Regions from separate parts of the Homo sapiens genome. Here region 2 is linked to region 1. The links are contacts of gene promoters, found by promoter capture Hi-C in blood cells and fetal thymus (Javierre and others, 2016). All regions are on one chromosome and are shown on one strand. Each heading gives the region's core, a stretch centred on a gene start or on the middle of the fragment in contact. The rest is flanking DNA. Distances are from core to core; before and after follow the strand shown. Region 1 holds the start of DHX58 (DExH-box helicase 58). Region 2 holds the start of NAGLU (N-acetyl-alpha-glucosaminidase).

What was found. Contacts are between HindIII fragments. The CHiCAGO score rates a contact against its expected background, and 5 or more counts as called.
Region 2: a contact is called between a fragment that was not itself captured here and the fragment with the promoter of DHX58 in region 1, in 1 of 17 cell types (fetal thymus). The highest score is 7.0, in fetal thymus.

What each region holds. Positions count from the first base shown.
Region 1 is chr17:42,110,795-42,115,053 of GRCh38, reverse strand. DHX58 (DExH-box helicase 58) reads left to right here and starts at 2,340. Exons shown (of 14, transcript NM_024119.3): 1 at 2,340-2,449; 2 at 2,849-2,941; 3 at 3,161-3,329; 4 at 3,557-3,758; 5 at 4,141-4,259. The coding sequence starts at 3,162. It overlaps KAT2A (lysine acetyltransferase 2A), which reads left to right. Exons shown (of 18, transcript NM_021078.3): 13 at 19-162; 14 at 450-564; 15 at 660-696; 16 at 772-835; 17 at 970-1,054; 18 at 1,212-1,943. The coding sequence ends at 1,405. RefSeq lists enhancers at 1,973-2,492, 2,733-2,832. The HindIII fragment of the contact is 8,851 bases long and covers 1,929-4,259 here.
Region 2 is chr17:42,534,321-42,538,579 of GRCh38, reverse strand. NAGLU (N-acetyl-alpha-glucosaminidase) reads right to left here and starts at 2,339. Exons shown (of 6, transcript NM_000263.4): 1 at 1,925-2,339; 2 at 1,035-1,182; 3 at 95-241. The coding sequence starts at 2,307. RefSeq lists silencers at 1,837-1,906, 2,027-2,436 and enhancers at 1,296-2,033, 2,547-2,626. The HindIII fragment of the contact is 1,324 bases long and covers 589-1,912 here.

The DNA of each region.
Region 1 (4,259 bases), core at 1,091-3,590:
TGACCATCCACCCCCCAGGGTTTCTCCAAGGACATCAAGGTGCCCAAGAGCCGCTACCTGGGCTACATCAAGGACTACGAGGGAGCGACGCTGATGGAGTGTGAGCTGAATCCCCGCATCCCCTACACGGAGCTGTCCCACATCATCAAGAAGCAGAAAGAGGTGGTGTGCACACATGCGCATCTGTGGGATTTTTCATGAATGGGCATGCAGAGGGCGAGCACACGTGTGTAGACCTGTTCTACGTCTACATGCATATATGTGTGTGAGTGAGGAGGGGCAGGCCAGGATCTTGGCTCTTGCTCTGCTCCCTTGGGGAAGTTATGAGGGGAGGTGCTGGATTAGGTGGCGTTGCAGCTGGGTGGGTGCAGCCAGTGGCTCCGACTGTGGCCCTGGGAGGGGTTGTTGTTGGGGCTGGAGTTGGCCCCTCAGTCCCTTCCTTCCCTCAGATCATCAAGAAGCTGATTGAGCGCAAACAGGCCCAGATCCGCAAGGTCTACCCGGGGCTCAGCTGCTTCAAGGAGGGCGTGAGGCAGATCCCTGTGGAGAGCGTTCCTGGCATTCGTAAGCAGGGGTCTCAGTTGCAGGGTAGTGGGGGCACGATGCTTGGGGTGTGGACTGGCATTCTTAGAGACATTCTCCCACTTCCCACTTTGCAGGAGAGACAGGCTGGAAGCCATTGGGGAAGGAGAAGGGGTGAGTGTCAAAGGAGCCGGGTTGGGGGTGGGGCAGAGGGACTTGGAGCCTCAGACTTGGTGTCTCTCGCCCCAGGAAGGAGCTGAAGGACCCCGACCAGCTCTACACAACCCTCAAAAACCTGCTGGCCCAAATCAAGGTGGGGAGACCAGGTTTCCTTTCCAGGGCCCCTGCACCAATGGCTGTGGCCTCTTGATGCAGTGTGGGGTGGGTAGTGGTCTCGGGCTGGCGTGGGCGCAGCAGGGCTGTCCCCAGCCCGGCTCTTCTCTCCAGTCTCACCCCAGTGCCTGGCCCTTCATGGAGCCTGTGAAGAAGTCGGAGGCCCCTGACTACTACGAGGTCATCCGCTTCCCCATTGGTGAGGACCTTCCATTCCATCCCCTTCCCTCCTCTTCTGTCCCCACACCTGCTCCTGCCCTCACTGCGCCCTGCAGCCCCAGGGGGCCCACCCTGGTGGACAGCCCTGCCGTGGTCTTCAGCCTCTTAAAGCTGTGCTCCGTCTCCTGCTGCCCCAGACCTGAAGACCATGACTGAGCGGCTGCGAAGCCGCTACTACGTGACCCGGAAGCTCTTTGTGGCCGACCTGCAGCGGGTCATCGCCAACTGTCGCGAGTACAACCCCCCGGACAGCGAGTACTGCCGCTGTGCCAGCGCCCTGGAGAAGTTCTTCTACTTCAAGCTCAAGGAGGGAGGCCTCATTGACAAGTAGGCCCATCTTTGGGCCGCAGCCCTGACCTGGAATGTCTCCACCTCGGATTCTGATCTGATCCTTAGGGGGTGCCCTGGCCCCACGGACCCGACTCAGCTTGAGACACTCCAGCCAAGGGTCCTCCGGACCCGATCCTGCAGCTCTTTCTGGACCTTCAGGCACCCCCAAGCGTGCAGCTCTGTCCCAGCCTTCACTGTGTGTGAGAGGTCTCCTGGGTTGGGGCCCAGCCCCTCTAGAGTAGCTGGTGGCCAGGGATGAACCTTGCCCAGCCGTGGTGGCCCCCAGGCCTGGTCCCCAAGAGCTTTGGAGGCTTGGATTCCTGGGCCTGGCCCAGGTGGCTGTTTCCCTGAGGACCAGAACTGCTCATTTTAGCTTGAGTGATGGCTTCAGGGGTTGGAAGTTCAGCCCAAACTGAAGGGGGCCATGCCTTGTCCAGCACTGTTCTGTCAGTCTCCCCCAGGGGTGGGGGGTATGGGGACCATTCATTCCCTGGCATTAATCCCTTAGAGGGAATAATAAAGCTTTTTATTTCTCTGTGTGATTGTTTCTTTGGTGTAGTCCCAGCCTTAGCAGGCTCACCTTGGCCCCCAGGGACCTCTTGCAAACTGGAGGCTGCTCTCCCCAGCAAGCCTCAGGCCTGGTCCTGTGCTCCTGGGGTGATGGGTCCTACCTGCCTGCAGCCCCCCACCTCTCCCTCCTCCAGGCTGCTCCTGATCCAGATGCCAGGGCAGCAGGGGTCAGAACCTCCTGCCTTCACCTTAACCTGGGTGGATGTGGTTACAACTGACTGCAGAAGGGCCAGAGCGTAGAGGATCCTGTAGCACTGAAAGAGTGCTTCCCTGTTAGCACACGTGGTTCTTTTTCTTGGGGCAGGGATAGGAGATTCGTAAGTCGGCTCAGCTGGCTCCTCCCCTCAGTTTCAGTTTCCATTTCTGATTTCTGCTCTCTGCGCTGAGCACAGCGGCACCAGGCTGAGCTAAGCAGGGCCGCCTTGGGCAGGCCTACGTGGTGGTGCAGGCGAGACCCAGGCTGGGCAAGGCGCAGGTGTAGCCTGTGTTACTCCCACCCCCCCCCACCCCCACCTTTTGGCCACAGCAGGCTTCTGATGAGTTTTGAGGGTGTCCCCCCCCCCACCTCCCTCAAGTGGGGTGGAGTCCTGGGCAAAGGGAGGTCTCTGTACCGACTGCTCTGGCCAGGAGTTGGGATGAGTGGAGGGCCCAGTGGGTCTGAGTCCCCTGCCATTCCCAGAATGGAGCTGTGGCCCTACCAATGGGAGGTGATCATGCCTGCCAGGGCGCTGGCGCAGCAGCAGTACTTAACCGGAGTTTGTACTCACGGCAGTTGGCGATGACTGTTAGCACAAACGGTTCTTTTCTCTTGGTTCTTTTTCCTGGGGCGGGGATGGGAGATTCCTAAGTCGGCTCAGCTGGCTCCTTCCCTCAGTTTCAGTTTCCATCTTGGGTCTCTGAGCTGAGCAGAGTGGCACCAGGCTGAGTTAAGTGGGACTGCCCTGGGCAGACCTACCTACTAGAGCAGGTGAGTCCTGGGCTGGGCAGGGGGCAGGTGTAGCCTGTGTTACTCCCGCCTCCCCCTTTTGGGCAGAGCAGGGTCCTGATGGGTTCTGAGGGAGTCCTGCCCCACCTCCCTCAAGTGGGGTGGAGTCCTGGGCAAAGGGAGGTCTCTGTACTGACTGGTCTGGCCAGGAGTTGGGAGGGGTGGAGGAGTCGGTGGGTCTGAGTCCCCTGCCATTCCCAGAATGGAGCTTCGGTCCTACCAATGGGAGGTGATCATGCCTGCCCTGGAGGGCAAGAATATCATCATCTGGCTGCCCACGGGTGCCGGGAAGACCCGGGCGGCTGCTTATGTGGCCAAGCGGCACCTAGAGACTGTGGATGGAGCCAAGGTGGTTGTATTGGTCAACAGGGTGAGTGGTCTGTCCCTACCCCGCTCTCCCACCACCAAGCAGGGTCTTAGCTCTTCAGGCATCTCCCAGTCCCCACCAGAACTCCAAAGCTGCTGTGGCCATCGCTAAGCTCACCTGTCTTTCCACCCTGGCTCAGTACCCAGCCATGTCCTGCGGGTCACCTTACCGCCTCCCTACCCCTGGCCCCAGATTCAGCTCTCTTTTCCCAGCTCATTCTCCACCCCCAGGTGCACCTGGTGACCCAGCATGGTGAAGAGTTCAGGCGCATGCTGGATGGACGCTGGACCGTGACAACCCTGAGTGGGGACATGGGACCACGTGCTGGCTTTGGCCACCTGGCCCGGTGCCATGACCTGCTCATCTGCACAGCAGAGCTTCTGCAGATGGCACTGACCAGCCCCGAGGAGGAGGAGCACGTGGAGCTCACTGGTGAGGGCCATGGCCGGGAGGAAAAAGATACGCATCTGGGGTACCTCCTTTCGCCAACCCCAGGGCACCTCCTGGAGTCAAGGTGTTGGGAGTTTTAGTGGGAGTGAGGGGTTGCCTGTTCACAAAACCCCTGCAGGCACTCTAGTAGAAACAGGCCGGGCTATCGTGTAGGATCTTAGGCCAGTCCCTTCCCCAGCTGAGCCTCGGTTTACTAATCTGTGAAATGGAAAGAAGTCTTCCCTGCCTGGCTCCTCATCCTGGGACCAGCTGCAGGTTGTGAAGGGAAGAAGGAATTCTTACATCATTGTGGGGACTACTTGAAAGCTGATGGGAGGAAGGGCTTTGCAAACATAGGTCACAGCCTTCCCCCCTGTGCCCTCAGTCTTCTCCCTGATCGTGGTGGATGAGTGCCACCACACGCACAAGGACACCGTCTACAACGTCATCATGAGCCAGTACCTAGAACTTAAACTCCAGAGGGCACAGCCGCTACCCCAGGTG
Region 2 (4,259 bases), core at 1-2,500, 420 kb before region 1:
CAGTTAAGAGCCCTGGGGCCGGCCTAATACCACCCTTCCTGGGCCCATGACCATCTATCACCGATTCTGCCCCTTCCCTTTTCCATCCTTTTACCTGCAGGTAAAGCTGCTTGATGTGCCAGGAGGGGGGCAGGGGGCCATCCCAGGTGTGCAGGTTGCCCATTCGCCCCCAGGCCAGGAAGGCAGGACCAGTAAAGAACTCATTGATCTCTGCCTGGGTCAGGCCCAAGGCCAGGTACACCTGAGGAAGAAGGGCCCACACATAGAAATATATTCATCTTCATTCATTCATTCATTCATTCAACAACCATTCACTCATTGCTTCTTTGTGCTGGGTGCTAGGGCTACTGAGACAAAATCCGAACGCTGCCATCAAGGAGCCCACAGCCCAGAGGAAAGAGACCTGTGAGTAGGTGAGTTCACTGTGTTGCCTTTGTCGCATGGGTGAGGAGATGGGGCACAAAGGGGCTTTCCCCCAACAGGAAGGCCTTAGAAGGCTTCATGGAGCAAGAGTGCCAGATGGAAGGGCAGGGCAACTGTGTGAAGAGCTTAAGCAGAGCCTGGAGCAGCCATTGCAGCACAGAAGCTTCCAGGGAGGCAGATCTAGAGCTGCCCATGAGTTGGATCCAAGGGACCAGGTGATTGGCTGCATAGGGGAGATGGGGGAAGGAGCCCCACTCCTCAAACTGGAAGCCTCAGTTTTTTTTTTTTTTTTTTTTAGACAGAGTCTCGCTCTGTTGCCCAGGTTGCTATTTCTTTGTATTTTAGTAGAGACGGGGTTTCACAATGTTGGCCAGGATGGTCTCGATCTCCTGAACTCCTGATCCGCCCGCCTAGGCCTCCCGAAGTGCTGGGATGACAGGCGTGAGCCACCGCGCCCGGCCGGAAGCCTCAGTTTTTAGGAGGCCCAAGCCACTGTGCACGCTGAAAGCACTTCTAGAGAGAGACACTGCGCCCATGCTGGGGGGCGGGTGAAAACACCTACGGTGGCTCCCGCCATAGAGGAGGGTGGGGAAGGGACAGTGGGCACGCACCCGCTGCCAGATGGCCTCCTGGCCGCTCCAGGCCAGTGCCAGGTTGATGCCATTCAGCGCCATCCAGTCTATCTCTCGCTCCCAGCGGGCCCAGTCCCACCACACGAAAGAGTAGCTTTGCGTGCACACATTCTGGTAATAGCGGTACCTGCGGGCAGTGTCATGAGCAGGGGCGCATCCCACCCTGGAGGGTCCACGGCCCTGGAACAAATCCCCCATCCCCCACCTAGAGGAGAGGGGAGGGGCTCCAAACTCGGCCCTTCTGCTGCACACTGGGACCCACCCCAGGTGGAGCTGAGACCAGGTACCGGGGCTGGGCTTCTGAGGCACTCGTCCCCTGCACTCTCCCAGGGCCCTCTAGCCTGGCGGGTATTTGGGTGGCATATTCCACTTTCATGCCACACTGCCAGAGCCCCTCCTCTGCACGGTGTTTTCCTGGAACGGGGAATCCCTGCCCCCACAGTCTAACAGATGGGCAGGGGAGGACAGCTGTGTGAACACATCACTCCATAGTGTGGCAGGCGCTGGAACACAGGCCTGTAGGGTGGGGGATGGAGGCGTCCTTCCTCAGTCCGCAGGTTCAAAGAGAAGGTGGGGGAGGAAGGCAAGAAAATTCACTCATCACCAATTGTGCACCACAAATTCTATGCCCATCATCGTGCAAATCCTCACAATAACACTGCACGGTAGGCGTCTTCTTTCCGTTTTTCAGGTGGGCCAGCCGAGGCTCTGAAAGGCAGAGTGGCTGGCTCAAGGCCACACAGCTGCTGGAGGCGGCGCAGCTGGGCCTTCCGGCCAGCGCTCCCCGCTCAGCCTCCCGATTTGGGTGGCAGCGGCTCCGGGAGGGGGTAAGCGCCTCGGGCGGACGCGGGGAAGCTTCGGGGCGGTACCTGTTGGGCGTGGCCTCGGTCAGCTCCCCCGGCACGGCTGGCAGTGGCCGCGGCAGGCGCAGCTGAGAGCCGGACCAGGCCACGTGGCAGCCACAGAAGTCGCGCAGGTAGCGGTGCAGCCCCGCGGCGGCCGCCACGCCCGTGGAGCCGCGCACCCGCACGCGCGCCGCGCCGCCGCCGCCCAGGCTGTAGGTGTCCAAGCCCGGCTTGGCAGCCAGAGCGCGCTCCACCGACACGGAGAAGTCGGCCGCGGGGCCTGGCCCCAGCAGCCGGGCCACGAGCGCCCGCACGGCCGCCGCCTCCCGGGCCTCGTCGCCTGCCGCGCCCCCGGCCCCGGCCAGGAGAAGGACCCCCACCGCCGCGGCCACCGCCACCGCCTCCATGGTCTCAGTCCTGCGGGTCCCGCGACGGCCAGGGGGTGGGGCGGCCCGCGTCCAATCAGCTGCCGGCCTCCGGCCACGTGGACCCGAAGGCTAAGCCCGGGCTCAGGGCCAGGAGTCGCGGCTTCCGGGTACCAGGATACTCCCTTGGGGGCGTCTCGTGACCGCACGCGGTGGGGAGCGTGTGACCCCGGCTCCAGGGCCGAAGGGGACCCGCTGGCCCTCACAGAGCGCCTTCGGGTAAAACGCGCTTTCACACGCAAATAACTTCCATCCAACCATCTAATAAATACACATTTGGAGTTTATTTTGTATCAGGCACTGCCATAGCTACTTCCCTACTGATGAACGAGAAGACGGTCCCTACCGTCCCCGTCAGGGAGGTGACCTAGAAACCAGATATTTAACGTAAGTAAGGATTTCCATCATAGTTGTGATGCTGCGAAGTAGTGCAGTAAGTAGCGAAGTAGCGAAGTAAGGTTTCCAAAGGAAGTGACTTTTAATCTGAAACTCAGGGATGAATAGGAATTGGCTAGAAGAGGGAAAGGAAGAGCCTTCCAGACAGAAGAAATGCATTTATTGAAGGCCCTGAGAAGGCAGAGAGCTTGCAGATTTGAGTAACTAACAGGCTAGGAGGTTCGAGGAGGGATGGGGCCATGTGAGCCCAGGCCGGCGGTGGAGCAGGGCTGGCGGGCACGTTAAAGGCTGTCCATTGGCGGCAGCAGCAGCAACATAACAGGAGCTGTCATTTTGTCAGAAGTTTCCAACCAGAGCGACTCCATCTTGAACAGGGGCTGGGTAAAATGAGGCAGAGACCTGCTGGGCTGAATTCCCAGGAGGTTAGGCCTTCGTCACAGGATGAGACAGGAGGTCAGCACAAGATAAAAGGTCACAAGACCCCGCTGATAAAACAGAATGCAGCAAAGAAACTGGTCAAAACCTGCCAAAACCAAGACAGGAAGGTGACCTCTGATCGTCCTCACTGCTCATTATACGCTAATTATAATGCATTAGTATGCTAAAGACACTCCTAGCAGCGCCAGGCAGTTTACAAATGCCATGGCAACGTCCAGAAGTTACCCTATATGGTCTAAACAGTGGAGGAACCTTCAGTTGGGGGGGATCCCCACCCCTTTTCTGAAAAATTCATTACTAACCCACCCCTTGTTTATCATATAATCAAGAAATAACCATAAAAATAGCCAACCTTAGGCCAGGAGCGGTGGCTTACGCCTGTAATCCCAGCACTCTGGGAGGCTGAGGCTTGCAGATCACCTCAAGTCAGGGGTTTGAGACCAGCCTGGCCAACATACAGTGAAACCCCGTCTGTACTAAAAATACAAAAGTTAGCCAGGTGCTGGGCGCGGTGGCTCACGCCTGTAATCCCAGCACTTTGGGAGGCCAAGACGGGCGGATACGAGGTCAGGAGATCAAGACCCTCCTGGCTAACACGGTGAAACTCCATCTCTACTAAAAATACAAAAAATTAGCCGGGCGTGTTGGCGAGCGCCTGTACTCCCAGCTACTCGGGAGGCTAAGGCAGGAGAATGGCGTGAACCGGAGAGGCGGAGGTTGCAGTGAGCCAAGATCACACCACTGCACTCCAGCCTGGGGGACAGAGCAAGACTCCCTCTCAAAAAAAAAAAAAAGAAAAAAAGTTAGCCAGGCTTGGTGGCACACGCCTGTAGTCCCAGCTACTTGGGAAGCTGAGGCAGGAGAATCGCTTGAACGCTGGAGGTGGAAGTTGCAGTGAGCCAAGATCGTGCCATTTGCATTCCAGCCTGGATGACAGAGCGAGACTCCATATCAAAAAAACAAACAAACAAACAAAAAAAGTTGAAAGAGGCCTGGAATCAGATATCAACTTTAGATACTAGGGAAGTATGATTTTTTTTTTTAATCTCAGCTCACGGGAACCTCAGCCACCCAGGTTCAAGCCATTCTCCTGTCTCAGT